Linked DNA regions of Homo sapiens: regions 1, 3 and 4 are each linked to region 2. Evidence: promoter capture Hi-C in 16 types of primary human blood cells and fetal thymus (Javierre and others, 2016). All regions are on one chromosome and are shown on one strand. The core of a region is centred on a gene start or on the middle of the fragment in contact, and the rest is flanking DNA. Distances in the headings are between cores, read along the strand shown.

Region 1 (3,888 bases), core at 654-3,153, 220 kb before region 2:
AATGACTAATTGATTTGGGGCTTGAGCATCTGGTTTTATGGCCAAGCTATATACTGAGATGGGGAAAAATCTAGGAGAAACTGAATTTTGCATTGGCCAGAGAAATCCATAATTTGGTGTAGACTGTGTTTGAGATGCCAGTTGATCATCTGTATGGAGATTTTTGATAGATGAGAGTCTGCAGCTCAGGGAAGGTCTCATTGAACATACAAATGTAGGAGTATAGCATATAGACTATTTTTAAAGCCATGGTACTGGATGGAGTTGATAGGGAGAGAGTGTATAGATGGAGAGGAGGTCCTAGGACTGAGTCTTGAGCATTCTAACCTTCAGTTCCAGCTAGTGAAGAAAGAAGAGATAACAAAGACAGGAAAAGCCACTGTAATTGATAAAAGCAACAACAAAAAAGTGAAAATGAGGTGTTGCAGGAGCCCAAGAAAGGTCGTGTTTCAAAATGGAGACGCCTCCATCAGATTTGGCAATATGGAGTTAACTGGCAGGAGCATGGGGACTGGAGCAAGTCGAAGTGTGGACACAGGTGGGGACGTAAAGGCCTACCACTGTCAGCCCTGCTGTGAAGGGAAATGAAGCAATAACTAGAGGAGATCAAAGGGGGTTTTTCGGGAGAAGAGGGACAGGGATGAGAGTGTTTTCCAGATGAAGGTACAGTGCCAGAAAATGTTTCATGGGCTCATGGGAATGATCCGGTAGAGGGAGAAAAATCCCTCTGGGGTATGGGCCACTGCTCTTCCTTGCCATTTGGTCCACAACCATGAAAGCCTTTCACTCTGGCCCCGAGCCCTTTTGTTGTATAAGGGTTGTGTGTTTACTGGGGGAGAAATGTGAGGGAGGTAAGGTAAGGGAGGCGGTACACAAAACTGCCACCGTCCCATTACCCAACAGCCTGCCTCTGTTGAGGGGCTTTCCTGGGACTTCAGACTGGCACCCTCATTGTGCTTGCAGCTGTCATGTTTCCTTGCCCAGATTGCCCATAGCTGCTTCCCTGGCCTCGGCCTTGAACCCCTCTAGCCAGCAACTGCCCAGGTAACACTTTATAAAACTGAGCCGCTGTCCCTGCTTGGAGCCTTCAGAGTAGACTTCAGACCTAGGCAGAGTATCCACTCAGCTCTGCCGTTTCTCCTGCTCCCCACTTCGGGCCTGCACGCTTCCCGCCGCTCGGCATGCTCCTTCCCCTTCTCCGAGAATGACGTGCTCCCCGCACTCCCCACACTGCCGCCTTGGGACCAAGAAGGTGCCTCTCACACCTTACTGCTCTCCTCCAGGCTTCGTGGTTGCTTTTCAGCCTTTTTCCCTGGATTTGAACTTTAACAAAGGTAAGATGGAGGTTTATTTTTCACCACTTGGCTGTGAGTTCCTTGAGGATAGGAACTTGTGTTTTACTCAGATCTGAATCTCCATTGCTTTAGTGGTGTGCTCAATACATGGTAGGGGTGAATATTTAATGAATGAATGAGTGAAAATATCTAAATTTTGCACAGGAGAGCAATTAGAGAGGCTTAAACAGGAAGGAAGTCTTCTAATTCCTTAAAAGCATTATCTCATATTTGAAGAGTTCAAGTTTGATGCAACATAAACTGATAAAGTTTGAAATAAAAAGAGACAGGTTGGTAGGAAAGACCATTCATATCCTATCCCCAAACTGGCTTAAGTCCACTCCCACTGCCCCCAGCTACCACCTTTTTACTTTATTCTACCTGCTATTTCTTTGGCCACCGGAATAATAAGCCTGATGTAAATTCTGTTTCATACTCCCACAGGTCAACTTTTTTTGGAGTTTGACAATAATTATTCCAAGTCAAGTAATTCATTGATTTTAGTGGAAGATTGTTTTCCAGGTGTTATTCTTCCATGCGCCTCACCCCCATCTCATAAAGTAGAAAAGAGATGATTTAATTTATGGGTCTAGAAAATAAAAATGTAAATACTTGCTTGTTAAATTAATTTTTTTCTACCTTCATTTTTACCTTTAATATTTCAAGATAATATTGGACTTAATTCTCTGAGACACACAAACATCCTGCATAAGTATATTGACAACATACATTTTATATGTAAGTGAACCATATGGGTGAGCCTCTGCTTTCTCCCTGACAGCGCTGTTCTTTAAGAAATTAAGGCTAACCAGGTCTATAGGTTTTAATGGGAGATGTCTCCTAACTTTTCAAAGACCAGATGTTCTTGTTATACTGATAAAAACTTATTAAAAAAAAAAAGAAATAGGGATTGATGATGTTCAACATTATTCTCTTTGAACAAATACATCATTTGTTCATACTTGGTTTCTCAGTATTTCAACAATAAAGCATGTTTTAATGATTTGTCTTTAGAGGAGTGAGCACTCCTCTGGGGGTATATTACAACTGGGAAAAAAAATATAGTTTGAAAATAAAATAACTGTTTACCCTTAAAGAAATTAACTCTATGGTGCCTTAAGGTTACATTTGCAATAAACTTTTTTACATCTTTCTGAGTCTTTTTTTGCTTTTTGCCTTCTTGGCTCTGAGAATAAGCATAGGCTGATATTAGATAGGTTTGTATCATTAGGGATAGCATTTAGCTGCAAGTAATGGAAAAATTCAACCATAATCACTTAACCAAAGGCAGGTCATTTTTCTCCCATAACAGCTCCAGAGAGAGATAAACCAATGCTAATGCAGTGATCCCAGGGTGTCATCCATTGCCAGTCTCCTCCTGTTTTGCTGCTCTGCCGTCTTTAGCATGCTGTGGTTCTTAGGGACCCCAAGGGCCTAGAGCTTGTTCCAGATAGGAAGATGAGCAAGGGCAAAAAGCAAGAGGCATGAGTTACTGAGTCCTTTTTGTGAGGAAACTACTAACTTCCTGTAGTATGCTTCCACCAACAACTTAATATCCTGAACGCACATGAGCACTCCATGCGCTACAGGTGGGTAATGCCAGGAAATTAGATTTTGTTATTTTTTGAAAACAGCTTTATTGAGATATAATTCTAGTATCACCCATTTAAAGCGTGTAATTCTCAGTGATTTTTAGTGTAGTCACAGAGTTGTATAATCATCGCCACAATCTAATTCATTTTTATTACCCTAAAAAGAAACCCCATACCCATTAGCAGTCACTCCCAATTCCACCCTCACCCTCAGCTCTAGGCAACCACGAATCTACTTTTTGTCTGTATAGATTTGCCTGTTCTGGACCATTCATATAAACGGAATCACACAACATGTGGTCTTTTGTGTTTGGCTTCTTACATTTAACATAGGATTTTCAAAATTCCTTCATGTATCATGTATCAGTACTTCATTCTTTTTTATTACTGACAGATATTCCATTGTATGGATATAAACCATTCATCAGTTAATGCATATTGGAGGAAATTGAGTTTTGAGTTGATCACGTTCTTGTTGTATACAAAATTGGGCTTCTATTGGTAAGGAAGGCGATGGCTCTTGAGGAACGGCTAGCAGTGTCTGCCGCTTTGCAGAAATGTGCTGGTATTTGGCTTCCTTTAGCAATATATTTAATGCTTCAAAAGTTCTGTCAAAGTACAGTGATTGTGAAGAGTCTTAGTGACTGTAGGGAGTGTCCAGTCAGCTTGGTGTTTAAGTTGGTGAGTCCTGCCATTATTTGAGATGAAAGCCTGGTAGGAATTACTACCTCACCTTTAGCTTCTAAGTCTTTGACCAGAAAACTCTACTGCTGTATTCCATTGTGAATGCTGTTACTTTGGCCTCTGGCCCACTGTTTTCCACCTGTTCATAATTCTGCCACCACCTTATAGATTTGAGCTTGCAAAGTTATATTTTCTTCAATATTTGGCGTACAGTATCTACCACCAGGTACCTTTTTGCTAGCTTCATGATCTGACTATTTAGGGCCTTTAGACGTAAG
Region 2 (3,699 bases), core at 805-3,304:
GGTCTAATGGGGACCCAGGAATGGCTCTTTTAACGGCCCCCTCATGAGATTGATGTGGGTAGTTCCCAAATCCTGTGAGGTGGGCTGTCAGTGCAATAGAGCCTGGGGTATGCCCATTTGTGCTTAGGCCACTGAGAAATTTACAGGCTCGATAGGCCTTTGGTATGTTCAAAGGTGAGTGAAGGATAACAAGGTGAAGAGATGCCTGTGAATCTGATTTTTTGGATGGCTGCAACTAAGAGTCAATGGGCATGAAAAACAATCCAAGAGCTCACATTTATATGAGGCCCTTATCAGTACTGAGAGAGACATTCTCACTTCACAAGCTTGGATGTGCAAAAAGAAAAAAATCACTTATTTCTTTAAATCAGTTATTGATTTCAAACCCCCCATCCTACTGTCTGGCTGGAAATTCAATATCAACCATGCTTGGGTCTGGCTCCTAGAGCCATCTGAAGGTCCTTGGATGCCTACGCATTCAAGGGTGCCATTGTGGGTCTTTGGTCCCTTTCCCATTTGAGGCTGTTTAATGGCCCTGCTTCTCACCTGAGCCTGGAAACCCTACAAAGCCGAGACCCCAGGGTTAGGCCCACCTCCCTGTGCACACTCGCGGCTATGCCCTCTCCCGGCCCCAGTCCTAGGAAGCCCACTCCTCTGCACCACTCCCTCTCCCTACAGAATCCCGCTCCTCAAGGGCTGAACAAAAAAGCCGGAAAAGGAAGAGTGTGCAGGAACCTTTTTTATTCAATCCTTCTTTTACCCTTCTTGGAAAAAGCGCAAATACAGTGATAACTAAATACCGTATCTCTATCAATTATCCTTTGGCCCAAAGCCCTTTGGGGTGATCCTCCATGATGGATGCCCCATGTAAAGGTGAGGAATCTGATCCCGAGGAAGCAACCATTGTGGCCAATTTCACATAGATAATAGCTGGCCAGGTCTAGACTCAAACCAGGCTGTCCACTTCTCTCTGGTCCAGCCCAATTGCCCCAGCTGAGTCATTCTGAAGAGTCAGCATGGACTAAAATGGTGGGGAGGCCCCTCTTTTCCCACTGATGTTCACTGGCCCATGGGAGGGAAGTGGGGGAATCTCTTGAGGGCCATTAAGGTGGGTAACAAAGGCAAAAGAACCAGGTAACAGTTCATTTACTTACCTTCTATTCAACTAGCAACAACATCACAACTATTCATTAAACAGGGCCAATTTATCCCTATAGCACCATGAGTTAAAGAGAGTTGTGGAGAAAAGAGACAAAGAGGGAAGGGTTTTGAGAAGAAAAGGCCCTGAGAATCCTGCACACAGACCTTCAAGGGAACAGCTCCATCTGGTGACTGCTTAGCAGATTCTTGCTCAAGAAACAAAGCCATATTGTGATTTTATTCAACCACTCTCAAAGATGGAGAGATACAGTTAAGCTGGAGGCTGAAGCCAGTCAGTATCAAATTGATACTAAAATATTATATTGCAGCAAATCCAGAAGAAATACATCCTATCTTTCGCAACCACAGGAAGTAAATACCTGGAAGAAAGGTCCATCTCCTGCCAGTAGCACCAGACACCAGATTCATTATAACCTTTCATCAGAGATTAAATATGGAAACAGATCCTGGAAAAGCCCTTGGCAAATCATAAATGAGAGGAAGTTTTTCTCCATGGCATACCCTGGCCATTCCTCCACTCTCCAGCCACATCATGTCTCCAGCCCTGCTACAACTTGACAGCAATAATAATAACTAAAATGTGCACAGATCTTTACAGTTTACCAAGCCATTAACCCATTTAAAACACTTCTTTAATCAGTAAATCAGTGGGGAAAGGCTTGGCTATGCTGTGGTAACAAACCTCTCGAATCTTAGTCACTTGACACAACAAAAGATGGTATCTCGCTCACAGAACCTGTGGTGATCTGGGTGACTCTCAGGTCAGTGGCTCAGTAGTGCCCCTCTGCCTGCTCAGGGCCTGGAGGATTGGCCTGAGAGCCCCCCCAACCAGTGTCTCAGTAACTCAGACTGTTTGGAACCTGAGGTACCTCCATTTCATTATAAGCTGCCATGATGGATGGGGCAGGGGAAGAAAGTCCTGGAAGATCCCGCACTGCTAAGCAATGCTTTGTCCCAAAGTAACGCTCTTCACTCTGCTCCCAGCCTAGCTGCCGCAAGAGCGGAACAGAATATTCTGTGTGCTCAGGAGAAGAAAAGAGCAGATATGGTTGAGCACTAAAACCCTCTACTGTGGGTAGTGAACCTAGGTGGACACAGTTGCTCACCGGGACACTTAAACCAGCTTTGCGGGGCTGTCGGGGTTGGGAAGCACAGTCTGGAAAGATTTCCCAATGGAGGAAGCACCAATTGTGGGTCCCTGAAGCTGAGGGGATGATGCCCAGGCAAGGCCGAGGCAGTCTGCAGAGGGCTGGGGAGGTGGGAAAGACGATTTTGCTCAGAGGAGGCAGAGATGGGGTGGTGGCTGAGAGAGATGCAGGGTCAAGGAAAGGATGGCTTCAGAGAGGAGAGATTTGCTGGGGCAAAAGGCCACAGGATGGGGAGGCTGCGGGGTCCAAGAGGACAGCTGATGGAGCGAGACCCTGCAGGCAAGGAGGAGATGGGGTGACTCATGGCAGAATCGCACCAGAGTTCCCACAGCCCTGTGCGGCCACTATGACTAGTCCCATCCTGTACATGGAGAAAACGAGGCTCCTTCCAGTTGTCCCTCACGCCTCCCTTGATTTATGTACTACCTGATGTGTATAAGGACAGGTGGTGACAAACACATGGTCCCTACCCTTCAAGGACATATAATCCAGAGCTAAGACAAGACCTTAACACAGGGCAAAGTACTATGCTCTGAGTTCATTTGATGAGCGATGGGAGAACGGGCTTGATCCTAGCCATGCGGGAGAGACTGGAATTCAAGAGAGTCAAATGTGCTGGGAAAGACTTTCTGGGCAAAAGGAATAAGCAAAGGTGTGCAAAGGTAAGGAAGCAGGAAACCTTTGCACATCTTGAGAACTCGCCGGCCAGAGGCCTGTGAAGGAGCGCAGTGGTCAGGCAGGAGAGGCAGTCGGATGCAGGCTGAGACCATCCTGGAGGGTCTTGAGGCTGGCTTACCCCAGGCTGTGAGTAGTGGGCTCAGCCTAGTCCCGGCTCCTGGGTTAGTGCTCACGTGTCTCTCTGCCCCCTCAGGGCCTGGAGGAATGGCCTTAGAGCCCCCACCAACCACGCTCAGGAAGGCATTCCTAGCTCAGAGTACCCTCCTGGAGTCTACACTGGAAGGGGCTCCTGAGTGGGCCGCGCCACACCCCGAGGAGCAGAGGCGCAGTCCTCCCGCGTGCTCCCAGCACACTCCACCCCTACCCAGCACACCCACGGGGCCCCCACCTTGCTCACCTGGGGGGAACCACCCACTCTGCGCCCTCTCAGGGAGAGGTGGTGGCCGCTGCTCTATCCCCTCCCTCTCTTCCTCTTCCACCTTCTCTCTCTTCTCATCTGGGTGCTGGAACCCAAGGGTGAAACTGAGAGTCAGAAAGTCTCAGTCTCAAGGCAGAGCGGGGCAACTAATTTAAAACGGCTTCTACTCCGGCCCCCAGTGTGACTAATCTCCTTCTCTTCGCTCCACAGGTCTATAAATGGGCCACAGTAGGCACCCCTTTTTAAATCTGTAAAATCCCCAAATCCATTAAAAGTGACTTCAGAGGTCCCAGA
Region 3 (3,457 bases), core at 53-2,552, 190 kb before region 2:
TGTCCACAGCTTCTAGCCCATGCTGCCCACCCTATCTGTTCAGAAACTCATAGGTGGCACCATTTTGAGTTTAATGAGTTTAATGAGTTTAAGGATGGGCCCATCCTTGAGCCGAGTTATAAGTGATGTACTGCAGCTGCCTCCCATCTGGGAAAGGGACAGGAGAGATTAAGCTCTTCTAAGAACATTCAGGACAATATCCACTGCCCTGCTGCAGGAGGCTGAGGACCTGGGGACTAGCCCACCCAACCCGTAACAGCTTCCAGCAACAACACAGACTGCTTGGATCCCATTTGGATGTTCCACCACCACTACTGTCACCACCCACACAACACCAGCTGCCCATTGGACTGAGAACCCACCCACACACCTGGCCCACCACTGTCACTACTAACTTCTAAACAAGCCGCCTGGAGGCCCAAGAATCAGCTCTCTAGAACCCACTAATACTGGAGCCAGTGCAAGTTGCTCTGGAGCCTACAAACAGTCACATTCACCCCACTGCTGCTGCTGTTGGGTGAAGACTAGTGCAGTTGTCACTGAAGTCCCCAGAAAATTTCACCACAACCTCAGCTAATCACTGTTCCTGAAGCCACTAAGGAAGTCACAGATACCATGGACCCTGTGTGCTGCCAGAGAAGTCATACTAAGATCACACTATCACAGGCACCCAAAATCAAAGCCAAAGTATCATCATATTCAACCAACTACATACATACGTGTTCAGGAAAAATTTCTACCCTATGAAAGCAATTTCAAAAGCTGGAACAAGAGACTGCTACACCAGATGTGCAGATATCAATGGAAGGACACAGGAAACATGAAAAAGCAGGGAAATATGACAGCACCAAAGGACTACAACAATTGTCCAGCAATAGATCTTAATAAAAAAGAATTTCTCAAAATGCCAGGTAAATAATTCAAACCACTGATTTTAAAGAAGCTTAATGGGATGCAAGAGAAATCTGAAAATCAATACAAAGCAATCAGAATATAAATTCAAGATATGAATGAGAAATTTACCAAGAAATTATCTCTTTTAAAAAAAGTGGAAATTTTGGAATTAAAGAATTCATTGAAGGAAATATGAAATACACTTAAAACCTTAGTAATAAACTAGACCAGAAGAAAGAATGTCACAACTTGAAGACAAATATTTTGAAATAATCTAGTCGGAGAAAAATAAGGAAGAAAATAATAAAAAAGAATGAACAAAGCCTTTGAGATGTCTAGGACTGCATGCAGTGACCAAACTAATGAATTATTGGTATTCCAAATGGGGAAGAGAGATAAAAAAGTTTAGGAAATCTATTTAAGGAAGTAATTGATGAAAACTTCCAAAGTCTAACAAGACAGACATCCAGATACACAAGGCCTAGGAATCCCCAGGCAAATACATTGCAAAAAGGACTTCACCATGCAATATTATATTCAGAATATATAACATTCTCCCTAACTCAGTCTAGAGTTAAAGTGAAAGAAAGAGTTTTAAATTACAAAAAGAAGAGCACCTAGTCACCTATAAAGACAACCTCATCAGACTCACAGTGGACTTTTCAGCAGTAACCTCACAGGCCAGAAGAGAATGGGATGGCATTTTCAAAGTGCTGAAAGAAAAAAAAAATCAGCAAAGAACTTTATACCCTGCCAGAATAAGCTTCGTAAATGAAGGAGAAAAAAAGTCTTTCCCAGACAAGCAAATGCTGAGGGAATTTGTCACCACTAGAGAGGCCCTACAGGAAATGCTTAAAGGGGTCTAAAACATGGAAATTAAAGGTCAATGTTCACCATTATGAAAACACATAATATAAAACTCACAATTCTTATAAAACAACTACAATAAGGAGGAAGAGAAAGGAATTTAATGGCAACATGACCAAATTTCATTAAACCACAAAGGCAAAAAGAGAAAAAAAATGAAACAAGCATTTATAAAACAACTTGAAAACAATTCATGATATGACAAGAATAAAGCCTCACATATCAAGATTAACCTTGATTGTAAATAGATTAAATGCTTACTTAAAAGATAGAAATGGGCAGAATGTATTTTTAAAAAATAATAATGCAACTATATACTGCCTACCAGAAACTCACCCTACCCATAAAGACATATATAGACAAAGTAAAGGGGTAGAAAAAGATATTCCACACAAATGGAAACCAAAAGCAAGCAGGAGTAGCTATACTTACAGATAAAACAGACTTTAAATTAAATATGGCAATAAAAGACAAAATCATTATATAATGATAAAGGTATCAATTCAGCAAGAGGATATAACAATCATATATATGTGTATGTGTTGGATATATATATCTCCAACATCAGAGCACCCAAATTCACAAAACAAGTGTTACTAGACCTAAAGAAAGAGATAAACAGCAATCAAATAATGGTAGGGGACTTCAACATCCCACTCACAACAATAAACAGATCATCAAGACAGAGAGTTAACGAAGAAACATTGGACTTAAATTAGACTTGAGACCAAATAGACTTAACAGTCATTTACAGAACATTCTACCCAACAAGTACAGAATATACATTCTTTTCATCAGCCCATGTAACATTCTGCAAGATAGACCACATGTTAGGCCACAAAACAAGTCTTAAGAAATTTTTTAAATCATAATTATATCAAGTATCTCCTCAGACCACAGGGGGATAAAGGTAGAAATCAATACCAAGAGGAACTTCAGAAACTATACAAATACATGAAACTTAGACAGCATGCTCCTGAACTGTCTCTGAGTCAATGAAGAAATTATGATGGAAATTTAAAAAATTGAAACGAATGAAAATGGAAACACAATATACCAAAACCTCTGGGACAAAGCAAAAGCAGTGCTAAGAGGGAATTTTATGACATTAAATGCCTATATCAAATAAGTAGAAAGAGCATGAATTAACAACCAAACATTGCACCTCAAGGAACTAGAGGAACAAGTACAAACCCAAAGATAGCAGAGGAAAAGAAATAACAAAGATCAGAGCAGAACTAAACGAAGTAGAGACCAAAAAACAATACAAGGGATCGACAAAATGAAAAGTTGGTTCTTCAAAAAGGTAAACAAATTGATAAACCACTACCTAGACTAACCAAGAAAAGAAGAGAGAAGATCCAAACAAACACAATCAGAATTGGAAAAGGAGACATTCCAACTGATATCACAGAAATACAAAATATCACCAGAGACGATTATGAACAATGATACACTCACAAACTAGATAATCTAGAGAAAATGGATAAATTCCTGGAAATGTACAACATCCTGAGATTGAACCAGGAAGAAATAGAACTCCTGAAGAGACCAATAATGAGTAGAAAGATTGAATCAGTAACAGAAAAATTTCCTCACACAAAAAAAGCCTGGGACCAGATGGATTCACAACTGAATTCTACCAAATATACAAAGAGCTAATACCAATCTTCCTGAATCTATACTAATAAATCAG
Region 4 (3,575 bases), core at 730-3,229, 250 kb before region 2:
ATTAGACAGTAGGATGAAATGTATGTATGTATGCCATAGAAATTAAAATAGGAACGGGATTGTCCACTACATGCTTGGTTTTATTTTGCACATCACAGCAACCTTTTATGGTTGGTGGGGTCCCTATGTTATAAGAATGGAAACCAAAGCCAAGAGAAGATGGTCACTCTGATAGTAATTGGTAAATCTAGGATTCAAAAATCTGATTCTAAATCCAGTGTGACCAGCTAAGAACTTTTTGGCTTTTGTGGCAGTTTCAGCCTTTTAGAGACCTTTTTTGATGATCATATTCTTGACCACCGTCTGGATTGGGCCTTTTTTTTTTTTCATGTGTGATAATGGAGTAAGTGGGATATTGTTATCATAATACACTCATGGGCAAGTCAGTTTTTAGATGTCTCTGATTAATTGCCCTTTGGAGTAAAGATATAGTGTGGTTAGAGTGTGCCTTCAGAGAATCCAGCCCACAGGAAGCAACTTTGAGTTTATGATTTTTCCCTACCAAGAATGTGCATATATGGGGATATATGCACATATATAGGGGACACTTAAGTCTGGTTTAAAATACAGAACACTTATAATTTTACATTTTTAATGGTAATCATGTTTTTAAGTATTTTGGGGATTTTGTTTTGTTTTAGATTATTTTTATTAGAAGTAAGCCCCTAACATTTTGGATTCCTTTGTCTTTCTCCCAATTTTTTATTATTTTATAGAAATCTTCTTCCTATTACTCATGTGTGTATAGAAGAAGGAGAAAAGCCCATGGTGATATTGCCTTACATGAATTGGGGGAATCTTAAATTGTTTTTACGACAGTGCAAGTTAGTAGAGGCCAATAATCCACAGGTGAGAAAAATTTGCCCAAATACCAATTATTTACCAGTAGTTTCTGATAATGTCTTTGAAAGTAGATATTAACATTCTTAAATATAAACTGTTTAGAGGCCTGCAAAAAAGAACCTCAAAATGAACCACAAGATATTTATAACCTGTTGGCTTAAAGGAAAATGTTGGCTTATGTTCCTGCCTTGAGGCTTACACTGTGCTGATGCTGAAGTTTTCCTTATATTCTCGTTGTGTACTTATTCATAATCAACTCAAACCCTTTGTAATGCCATCTTAGGTGTTTTCCTGATAACTGAGGGTACTTGTCCTAGATCTTCCTCTTAGGAATGGAAACAGACTTTCTAGAGCCATTTGGTTCATACTATACCAAAGTCTGGTGATGACTGGAGGTCTAGATTGTGGGAGATAATTGGATGTATTGTTAATATGCGTGGCTGTAAGATGGCAGTCATCTAAGAGTGTTTCTCTTCCCTGCTTGTGTTTATAACTGTAAAGCAAAGGTCAGATACCAAGCATATTATGATGGTAGTGGTAGTAAAGCCTAGTGGGTTTTTTTTGCTGTCAGCTGTATCTTGTTGTCCCATTAAGTTGCTTTAGGATTTATAATAGTATGCTTATTATAGTTGCCAGGAGAAAGTGGGTTCAAAGGCTGCATTCAGTATTTGGCCTAATATGTATCATATGCTTTGTAAATTGACAAGACTAAAGCTGGGATTCTCAATAAGTGGTTAGAGGCTGTGGCTCATCTGCATTACCTGGGGAAGGATTTTATTCCTCAGCCCCAAGTACTGTCATACACCTAGAAGAACACATCAGCAGAAAAAGCTAGGAGCTCGTACTTTGGGTTTGTGTGTGGTTTTTTTTTGTTTGTTTTTTGTTTTTTGTGTTTTTTTTTGAGATGGAGTCTCGCTCTGTCGCCCAGGCTAGAGTGCAGTGGCGTGATCTCAGCACTGCCAGCTCTGCCTCCCAGGTTCACGCCGTTCTCCTGCCTCAGCCTCCCGAGTAGCTGGGACTACAGGCGCCTGCCACCACGCCCGGCTAATTTTTTGTATTTTTAGTAGACGGGGTTTCACCGTGGTAGCCAGGATGGTCTCAATCTCCTGACCTCGTGATCTGCCTGCCTCAGCCTCCCAAAGTGCTGGGATTACAAATGTGAGCCACCGCACCCAGCTGCAGGGTTTTTTTGTTTTTTGTTTCATTAGACAGGATCTCAGTCACCAAGGGTAGAGGGCAGTGGTGTGATCACAGCTCACTGCAGCCTCAACCTCCCATGCTTAAGCAATCCTCCCACCTCAGCCTCCTGAGTAGCTGGGACCACAGGAACATGCCACCATACCTGGCTAATTTAAAAAAAAATCATTTTGTGTAGAGACAGGGCCTCAGTATGTTGTCCAGGTTGGTCTCGAACTCCTGGGCTCAAGTGATCCTCCCACCTCAGCCTTCCCAAGTGCTGGGATTATAGGCATGAGCCACTGCACCAGGCTTAGATTTGTGTTAATTTGAAAATAATCCCAAAGAGAGAATCTCCTAATAAAAACTACTGTTTGGGGGAAAAAAAGATTACTGAATTATAAACATTTGAAATATTACCTTGAGAACTCAGCATTCACTGAACAGATGTATTGAGCAGCTGCTGTGTGTGCTGGATATTGGGGAGATACATCTAACAGATGAAAGGAGACAGAGTAAATGGTAGATTACAGAATAATAAGGACTACAGTTGATATAAGTATAGGGATATATGGGAACATAGTCTTGGTCAAGAAATAGCTTTTAAAAATTCTGTGTGTAGGTTTAAAGCAGTATTTTTGGATGGAGTAGGATTGTGGAATAAAAAAAGTAAGAAAGTGCCATCATATTTGTGTGCTATTTGCAAACCATGTTATTTTTTGTTACCACAGGCAATTTCTCAGCAAGACCTGGTACACATGGCTATTCAGATTGCCTGTGGAATGAGCTACCTGGCCAGAAGGGAAGTCATCCACAAAGACCTGGCTGCCAGGAACTGTGTGTAGGTGCCATGAGCTTGACGCTGTCACTTGATGTAGAGTGCTTCCTGGATTTGGGGTTCTCTGCGAGTCACAGTGGGACTTGTGTTGTATTTAAGGGTGGTGATGATCCCTACTTTTTAATACTCTGATTGCATTTGATGTTCATATCTTTACTTTTCAGCATTGATGACACACTTCAAGTTAAGATCACAGACAATGCCCTCTCCAGAGACTTGTTCCCCATGGACTATCACTGTCTGGGGGACAATGAAAACAGGCCAGTTCGTTGGATGGCTCTTGAAAGTCTGGTTAATAACGAGTTCTCTAGCGCTAGTGATGTGGTAAGTGCCGGGACCCCCAGATAGCAAAAGAATAGAGAAACAGCTTTCTGTTTTTAAATGTTCTACTATTTTTATCTTTTGGGTTTTTAAAAAATCTGCTAGCTGTTCCCGGAAATTTTTATCCAGAAAGCAAGTGTAATTAGCTGCCAGTCAACCAGTTTATGGAGAGGAGCTGTGACCCAGACCATAGGCCAGCACTGTTTGTAATCTCATTTCATCCTCACAGTACTGCTCTGACAGAAGCACTTTTTTTTTTTTTTTTTTTAAGACAGAGTTCCACTCTTGTAGCCCAGGCTGGAGTGCAATGGCGCAATCCTGGCTCACTGCAACCTCTGCCTACCAGGTTCAAGCGATTCTCAGGCCTCAGCCTCCCAGGTAGCTGGGATTACAGGCG

Evidence for each region. The method cuts DNA at HindIII sites, captures the fragments that hold promoters and counts their contacts. A CHiCAGO score of 5 or more calls a contact.
Region 1: a fragment that was not itself captured here is called in contact with the fragment with the promoter of C3orf36 in region 2 in 1 of 17 cell types (endothelial precursors); the score reaches 5.4 in endothelial precursors.
Region 3: a fragment that was not itself captured here is called in contact with the fragment with the promoter of C3orf36 in region 2 in 1 of 17 cell types (endothelial precursors); the score reaches 6.8 in endothelial precursors.
Region 4: a contact is called between a fragment that was not itself captured here and the fragment with the promoter of C3orf36 in region 2, in 2 of 17 cell types (endothelial precursors and megakaryocytes). The highest score is 8.7, in endothelial precursors.

Annotation. Positions count from the first base shown.
Region 1 is chr3:134,151,242-134,155,129 of GRCh38, reverse strand. No RefSeq gene overlaps it. Among named protein-coding and RNA genes, the nearest start is that of LINC02000, 96 kb to the right of the region's middle. The HindIII fragment of the contact is 4,954 bases long and covers 1-3,888 here.
Region 2 is chr3:133,928,167-133,931,865 of GRCh38, reverse strand. It overlaps C3orf36 (chromosome 3 putative open reading frame 36), which reads left to right and starts at 2,054. Exons shown (of 1, transcript NR_161373.1): 1 at 2,054-3,699. The HindIII fragment of the contact is 5,965 bases long and covers 329-3,699 here.
Region 3 is chr3:134,120,005-134,123,461 of GRCh38, reverse strand. No RefSeq gene overlaps it. Among named protein-coding and RNA genes, the nearest start is that of LINC02000, 64 kb to the right of the region's middle. The HindIII fragment of the contact is 714 bases long and covers 946-1,659 here.
Region 4 is chr3:134,175,215-134,178,789 of GRCh38, reverse strand. It overlaps RYK (receptor like tyrosine kinase), which reads left to right. Exons shown (of 15, transcript NM_002958.4): 11 at 717-849; 12 at 2,751-2,860; 13 at 3,022-3,181. Among named protein-coding and RNA genes, the nearest start is that of RYK, 74 kb to the left of the region's middle. The HindIII fragment of the contact is 4,593 bases long and covers 1-3,575 here.